Regions from separate parts of the Homo sapiens genome. Here all the other regions are linked to region 2. The links are contacts of gene promoters, found by promoter capture Hi-C in human tissues and cell types (Jung and others, 2019). All regions are on one chromosome and are shown on one strand. Each heading gives the region's core, a stretch centred on a gene start or on the middle of the fragment in contact. The rest is flanking DNA. Distances are from core to core; before and after follow the strand shown. Region 1 has its middle 37 kb from the start of MIR550A2. Region 2 holds the start of NT5C3A (5'-nucleotidase, cytosolic IIIA). Region 3 has its middle 13 kb from the start of MIR550A2.

Evidence for each region. Contacts are between HindIII fragments. The study calls those that stand out against the background at their distance.
Region 1: a contact is called between a fragment that was not itself captured here and the fragment with the promoter of NT5C3A in region 2, in 1 of the 25 tissues and cell types used here (lymphoblastoid cells).
Region 3: a fragment that was not itself captured here is called in contact with the fragment with the promoter of NT5C3A in region 2 in 1 of the 25 tissues and cell types used here (H1 embryonic stem cells).

What each region holds. Positions count from the first base shown.
Region 1 is chr7:32,694,161-32,696,860 of GRCh38, forward strand. It overlaps the pseudogene DPY19L1P1. Among named protein-coding and RNA genes, the nearest start is that of MIR550A2, 37 kb to the right of the region's middle. The HindIII fragment of the contact is 7,417 bases long and covers 1-2,700 here.
Region 2 is chr7:33,061,433-33,064,132 of GRCh38, forward strand. It overlaps NT5C3A (5'-nucleotidase, cytosolic IIIA), which reads right to left and starts at 1,344. Exons shown (of 9, transcript NM_001002010.5): 1 at 1,136-1,344. The coding sequence starts at 1,273. LOC124901610 (a long non-coding RNA gene) reads left to right here and starts at 1,753. Exons shown (of 4, transcript XR_007060279.1): 1 at 1,753-2,216; 2 at 2,597-2,700. RefSeq lists silencers at 979-1,038, 1,339-1,458 and an enhancer at 1,699-1,858. The HindIII fragment of the contact is 10,077 bases long and covers 1-2,700 here.
Region 3 is chr7:32,718,700-32,721,399 of GRCh38, forward strand. It overlaps the pseudogene DPY19L1P1. Among named protein-coding and RNA genes, the nearest start is that of MIR550A2, 13 kb to the right of the region's middle. The HindIII fragment of the contact is 4,185 bases long and covers 1-2,700 here.

The DNA.
Region 1 (2,700 bases), core at 151-2,650, 370 kb before region 2:
AAGCAATTGCAGCAAAAACAAAAATTGACAAATGGGATCTAACAAAACTAAGAGGTTCTGCACAGTAAAAGAAACTAACAACAGAGTAAACACACAGCCTACAGAATGGGGGAAAACACCTGCAAACTACACATCTGACAAAGGTCTAATATCCAGTACCTAAAAGGAACTTAAACCAACAAGCAAAAACAAACGGCCTCATTAAAAATGGGCAAAAAATGTGAACAGACACTTATCAAAAGGAGACATGCATGTAGGCAACAAGCATATGAAAAAATGTTCACCATCACTAATCATTAGAGAAATGCAAATCAAAACCACAGTAAGATGCCATCTCACACCAGTCAGAATGGCTATGATGAAAAAGTTTAAAAAAAAAAAGATGCTGGTGAAGTTTTGGAGAAAAGAGAACACTTATACACTGCTGGTAGAAATGTAAACCAGTTTGGCCACCGTGGAAAGCAGTTTGGAGATTTTTCAAAGAATTTAAAATGGAGCTATCATTCAACCCAGCAATCCCATTACTGGATATATACCCAAAGGAATATAAATTGTTCTACCATAAAAACACATATACACGTATGTTCATTGCAGCATTATTCACAATAGCAAAGACATGGAATCAACCTAAATGCCCATCAACGGCGGAATGGATAAAGAAAATATGGTACATATATACCATGGAATACTATACAGCCATATAAAAAGAATGAGATCATGTCCTCTGTAGCAACACAGATGGAGCTGGAGGCCAGTTTCCTAAGTGAACTAACACAGAACAGAAAACCAAATACTGTATGTGCTCCTTATAAGTACGAGCTAAACATTGAGCACACATGGACAAAAAGAAGGGAATAACAGGCACCAGGGCCTACTTGAGGGTGGAGGGTGGGAGGAGAGTGAGGACTGAGAAAATACCTATCAGGTACTATGCTTATTACCTGGGTGACAAAATAATCTGTACACCAAACCCCATGACATGTGATTTACCTATATAACAAACCTGCAAATGTACCCCTGAACCTAAAATAGAAGTTGGAAGGAAAAAAATTCATTGCACAAATGGAAACAATAAAATCTACAATTTGAACATGTATTTGAATAGCTAGACGTGTCATCAGAACAATTCTTGGTGCTTATTTAAGCACCCAGAGCTACCTAAAGAGAACATGAGGTTTAAGAACCACTGATGAGGAATCAAAGCCCTACTTTGAAGAGTATAAATATATAAGCATTATATACATATATACACACATATTTTAAAGAATTATAAAATGAACACTTGTATACTTAACACCAAGAAATTGAATATTAACATTGAAGCACCCAGGGCTTCTCCTGTATTGCATTCTTTCCTAGAAGTGATCACCAGCCTGTTTTGAATTAACTATGCCTATGCTTTCGCTGTTTTGCCACACTATATCTTCTATAATATTGTTGTCTTGTTTGTTTTTAGGGCATATGTAAATGGCATATATATTGACATGCACACTCATCCCCTTTGATGACTTAGTTTTTTATCTTTAACAGTCTATTTGACATTGGTTCCCGCTGACACTTTTGACTGTAGATCACATTCACTCATTTACAATATTACTTTGTATGGAAATATTCATTTTATCCATTCTGTTGGTGGGCCTTTGAGTTGTTTTCAGCTTTTTTTTCTCAGGTACAAATAATGCTTCCATGAAGATTCATGTAATTGGTTTCCTTGGTATATTTGTACCAATATTTCTTTAGGGTGAAACTATAAATTGCAGACACTATATACCTTAAAACTTATTAGGTAATAACGACTTATTTTCTTTTTATTATTATTATACTTTAAGTTTTAGGGTACATGTGCACAACGTGCAGGTCTGTTACATATGTATACATGTGCCATGTTGGCATGCTGCACCCATTAACTCGTCATTTAGCATTAGGTGTATCTCCTAATGCTATCCCTCCCCCCTCCCCTCACTCCACAACAGTCCCCGGTGTGTGATGTTCCCCTTCCCACGTCCATGTGTTCTCATTGTTCAATTCCCACCTATGAGTGAGAACATGCCGTGTTTGGTTTTTGGTCTTTGTGATAGTTTGCTGAGAATGATGGTTTCCAGTTTCATCCATGTCCCTACAAAGGACATGAACTCATCATTTTTTATGGCTGCAGTGAGCCAAGATCGTGCCACTGAACTCCAGCCTGGGCGACAGAGCAAGACTCCATCTCAAAAAAAAAAGGGAGAACCAAGGATTTTATATCTAGCCAATCTGTCATTCAAGTATAGATGTTATAAAAAAAGTTTCAAATATGCAATAATTGAGGAAATAATAGTAACCTTCTCAAATACAAAAAGTTTAAAAGAGAATCATATACAGAAACAAAGCAAATATAGTCAAATACACATAAAACTTACAACAAAGGTTCTCACATTATCTCACAAAGCAAAGACAGACTCAACTTATGCTACACAGGGAAGACAAATACAAACAGATTCAGAAAGGTGAAAAATAGAATGATGGCATCAGCATGGCAGGCAATACCATTTCCATATGCAAACTAAGGAAGACATTTAAAGCAAGGATAAGAAGCAAATTCATGGCCTCAAAAGCTTTATCAATAAAAATGAAAGAGTGAAAATAAATGAATTAAATTCTTGACTTAAAAATCTAAATAAATAACAAAATAAAGCAAAAAAAGTATACTAAAGGAAATAC
Region 2 (2,700 bases), core at 94-2,593:
GCTGGAGTGCAGTAGCTATCCACAGGTGTGATTATAACCTTGAACTCCCAGACTCCAGTGATCTTCCTCTCAGCCTCCCAAATAGCTGGGACACTGGCTAATTTTAATTATGCAAATACATCTGTATTCAACCTGGGGTCAGTACAACCAATAGGACAAATCGTGTCTTTCGTCAGTTGGAACATATTGCAGGTGCTCAGAAATTCCAAGTATTACACCCTAAAATGATATTATTTAGTGTAGATTTTAAATTTTTTTCTATCATAAATCATCTGACCCTAGATGTTCACATGTATAGCACACGGTCAGGCGTATACCCAGGATTATGCATTTCAGGAAATACATAAGCGTGCAAGTTTGTGCAAGAATTGTCTTCCTGAGTGGGTTCTAATTAAAATACAAAACGAAACTAAATATCCTCATTTTTGAAACAATTACTTATAATGTATCTCAAAGGGAATTCTTGAGACACCCTCTTCAATAAAAAATTAAATTCGAAAATGTATACAAGAGCTTTGGGAGTTAAGATGAAAACAAAGATATTTCGTGGGAGTTTTGAGACAAGAAGGAATACATTCAAATACAAAATAAACTATCCTGAATTTCTCCTGGATTGCCATTCTTGTAAAATTTTAGATATTGCACATTTTCATAATCTAACTCACGGCAGCCCCAACATAAAACTAGTCCTCTGCGGGAATTGCAACTAGATTAGCGGCAACGGTTTGACGCGGATCCGGGGGGAGGGCGGGAGCAAGGCAGGGAGAGAAGGAGCCACCTGCCCAGGACATGCAGCTTATCTCTAGAGAAACGGGTTTTGCAGCACAAAGTAGCCTGTGTCCGATTCATCTATTTTCTGCCTTGTTCCTTCAAACGGAAACCTAACAAAGACCACGGGCAGCCAAGGGCCGCAGCCGGGGACCCAACCCTGGTCACCAAGCCCGCGGAGTGGCCGCACGCGGGGCGGCCGGGTCCCCCAAGCTGCGCGTCCCGAGCTAGCGAGATCCCAGCCTGACAGGCGACGCCGGCAGCTCCCCGTCGCGACCGAACAGCGGCCCAGCACAGGCTGCCGAGGCCAGCGGACGGCCCAGCCGGCCCCTCGCGTGCTCTGGGCGCGCCGAGCCTCCACACTCACCATCTCGATGATCTTGGTCTTCCGCCCCGTCTTCCTCTTCAAGGTGAATATGTACTGAGCCAGCACCACCCCCGCCACCAGGGCGCACACGCTGGCGCTCGCTACCGCGCCCACCCTCGCCACGGCCGCGCGGTCCATGGACGGGGCCCTCATGCGCGTCCAAGCAGGAAAAAAACAGGCAGCTCGCGTAGACTGCGAGTCTCGGAAGCGCGGGATCCCAGAGCATCACGGACGAGCCCGCGACGCCCCGCCCCGCGCAGCGACGCCCCGCCCCGCGCAGCTCCGCCCCCACGAAGCCCCACCCACACGCCATCGATGGGAGAGGCCAGGACGCGGCGGGAGGGGTGTGGCCTGTGCCCGGAGCCCAGGCTGGAGGCGGCCTTCAGCAGACTCAGGGTCTCACGAGCTGCTGTCAGGGCAGGGCAGAGTATTGCGGTAATTATCCTTCTCTGCTAATGAGGATTAGGCCGTGGTTCGCTCGAGCCCCGCCCCAGTAGAAATCTAATTCCAACTGCGGCCCGCTAAGAAGTCGGTCTCCGCCTTCGCGCCTCAGCCCCTCTGGACTCCGACCCCCAGAAGGCTGCGCGGCACGGTGTGACCTGCGCAGTGGCGTCCGTTCTAAGTGCTATAACAACAGGGGGAAGATGGCTCAGAGTTAGGCTGGAGAGGGGCGGTGTCCCTTCCGCCGCAGCCGCGGGGTTTCTGCTACATCCCATTCGCCACCTCCGCCATCCTTTTTTCTGTGTGAGCAGAAGGGCTTGCAGTTGTTCTCTCCTGCCTAGTGTCTTCCAAGGGATAGATGCCATTTCTTCTGCTGGTCTCTGGGGGTGAGGAGGGGCGCAGGGGAGCTTCTTGGGGGAATCGCTCCAACTCTGTGGAGCTGGTGGTGCTGCCTGGTGGGGCTCTCTCTGCCCAGGACGTGGAACAACTTTCAGCCGGAGGACTAGAGGAAATAGTTGTAGGGGAGGAAAAATTGTTTCCTTCTAGCCTTTTAGGTCATTTGGCTGGTCTACAAATTAAATTGATGTAAGACAGAGGAACATGAGAAAAACGATTTGTCGACCGAAAGGTGAAATAACAGGTACTAAAACTTAAAGAAATCATGGTTAGTTTTATTACTCGGCCAAGTTTGAGGACTTAAGCCTGGGAACACAGACTCAGTATAGACCGAGAACGTGTCCCAAAGTAAGTTAGCTGGGAGTATAACCTGAAGAAGACTGAGTTTTAATACCCAGAATATTTGAGTATCAATATCTAGACTACTGTGTCATTTTGTCGCCAAAGTAATTTTTTATGAATCCAGTTTTGCACCAAATACCAATATGACTTAAATGTTGTCTGATTGTGAGGCCTAAGATGGTCACAGTCTCATTTATCTTTCTTCCTCAACAAAAACATTTTCCATATATTACATATTATTTTGAATGGGTAGAGACTAAAGCCACGTTTCTATAATTTCAGGATTTTAAACATTTTGTAGACGATAACATTCGTCTTGAAGCTGTGGACAATCTAAAACAGAAATGGAGTTCCAAATTTTGTTTTTGTAATATGGCCCGTCAACT
Region 3 (2,700 bases), core at 80-2,579, 340 kb before region 2:
CAGACATAGAATGGGAAATCCAGCTTCATCATGTAGTAAATGTGGAATGTGGATAAGTAACTTAATTTTCTCTAAATTTAAATTTCATAACTTGTATGGTGAGGCTACCACCACCCACAAAAAAAGTTTAGTGGGAATAAATCAGATAATGTGCATGACGTGATTCAACTCAACAAGTACAGTATTTCCTTTTCTCTACAGAATATATGTATATGTATATATTTACTAAAAATAAGGCAAGAGATTTCATGTTTGAAATTCTAGCTATTTAAACATTTTGATCAGCATGATTAAAATATCAACTTATAACACAAGGGTCTTTAAAATATTGTGAAGTCATAAGTAGTATACAATTATATATTGTTTCGATGAGTATATTTCTTTGTTCCTCTATAACCCCTTCTATTTCTTAAAAATTGCTTTCTAGAAAACAAACCTCTCCATGGTTGAAAAAGCAGCACAGTACTGTAATAAGACCTCCTAGTTGAGTCCCACTGTAAAAAATAATAATAATAACAGAGTATACAATCAAAATTCATGTAAAATACAGTGAGTTTTTCACAAAATTACCTCAGAATTTTAAACCATAGTTTAAATCATATTTAAAACATAATAGTACTAAACCATACCCATGTGGTTGATGCTTAAATCCTGAATGTACAATCGTAAAAAGTGTACATATAAATTAATCTCAATTTTATAATTTATCATAGCTAAAATACTTTCTAAATAAAATACATAAGGTGTGAACATAAATTTTTTTTGAGATGGGGTCTTGCTCTGTCGCACAGGCTGGAGTGCAGTGGCGAAATCTCGACTCACTGCAACCTCCACCTCCTGGGTTCCAAATATTCTCCTGCCTCAGGTTCCCAAGGAGCTGGGATTACAAGCGTGTGCCACTATGCCCGGCTAATTTTTTTACTTTTAGTAGAGATGGGGATTCACCATGTTGGCCAAGCTGGTCTCAAACTCCTGACCTCGTGATCCACTCGCCTCGGCCTCCCAAAGTGCTGGGATTACAGGCATGAGCCACCGCGCCCCACCGCATAAAGTAATTTTTAAGAAACAGGCTAGCACTTTAGAGTCTAGATCACATCCTTTGAATAACCTGAATAAAGGCAAATTCTTATTTTTGAAATTGGCTTTAAGGGATTGAGAAATGAAGACAAGATTCAAACAGTTTCATGTAGCATTAACTTAGAACTGTCTAAACTACTGCAAATATTCTTTACTTGAGTCCCAGACAAGCAATAATGCCGAATACAAAAATCAGATGAAAGATAAAAACCATTTCTTTTGTTGTTGTCTTTTTGTTTTTTTGTTTGTTTGAGAAGGAGTCTCGCTCTGTCACGCAGGCTGGAGTGCAGTGGAGCGATCTCAGCTAACTGCAACCTCTGCCTCCCCAGTTCAAGCCGACTCTTCTGCCTCAGCCTCCCGAGTAGCTGGGATTACAGGCGCCTGCCACCATGCCCGGCTAATTTTTTTTTTTTTTTGTATTTTTAGTAGAGACGGGGTTTCACCATGTTAGCCAGGATGGTCTCGATCTCCTGACCTCATGATCCGCCCGCCTCGGCCTCCCAAAGTGCTGGGATTACAGGCGTGAGCCACTGCGCCTGGCCCAAAAACAGAACTTTTTTTAAAAAAATAGAATATTTTTAAACCTGCCCAAACAATCTCAAAGCAATCCTTTTCCCTCAAAGTACTTTAATGAGCTTATATTTTTCTACACGGCATATAGAAAAGTGCATAAAATTTCTAGATTATAGAACTGTAAAGGGAACGTCCATGTAGTCACCATATAATTAATTGAAATAGAGAAATGATTATACTGTCTTCACTTGCCAGCCTCCAAGATAAGAATCAGCTACTGACCTGATTTTTGAGATTATCAACATAACTCTTTCTATACACATATCAAACTATGATTTACTTTAATCTGTTTTTAAACAACATACAAATGGAAGAATGCAGCATTTTTTTAAATTTTGTACCTGGATTCACTCATTCAAAATTATATTTGTAAGATTCAACCATGTTGTGTGTAGCTGCATAGTTCATTCATTCTCATTATTGTATACTGTTCCACCATGTTAATAAACCAAAATGTATTCATTTCTCTGTTAATGGATATTTGGGTTCTTTCCAGTTTGAAGCTATTGCAAATAATGCTACCATATTATTGTATGTACTTCCTAGTACACATGTGCAATACTTTTTTGGGAATATGTATGTTAAATTACAATTGCTGAGTTATAAGGTATCCATACCTTCAACTTTACCAGATAATATACACTGTTTACCAAAATAGTTGTACCAATTTATATGTCCACCTGTGGTGGACGAAAGCTCCTTTATCAATCTATTAGATGTGAGTTGGTATTTCACTATGGTTTGAATTTATATTTTCTTTATAACAAATGATGGTGGTCAACTTTACATATGTTTATTGACCATGTGGTGTTCTTCTGGGAAATATCAGTTCATAAACATTTTGTCCATTTTTCTATCAAGTTGTCTTTCTTCTTTGTCTTTATCTTCCCACTCTAATATAAACTTCACAAGGACAGAGATTTCTCTTCTGTATTCCAAGCACCTAGAACAGTGCTCCTGGTCACAACAGGCTTTCAATAAATATTTATCAAATTAATGAATGGAATTTCTGGATAGTAGGTGGGGCATAAACTTTGTAAATATCTTCAC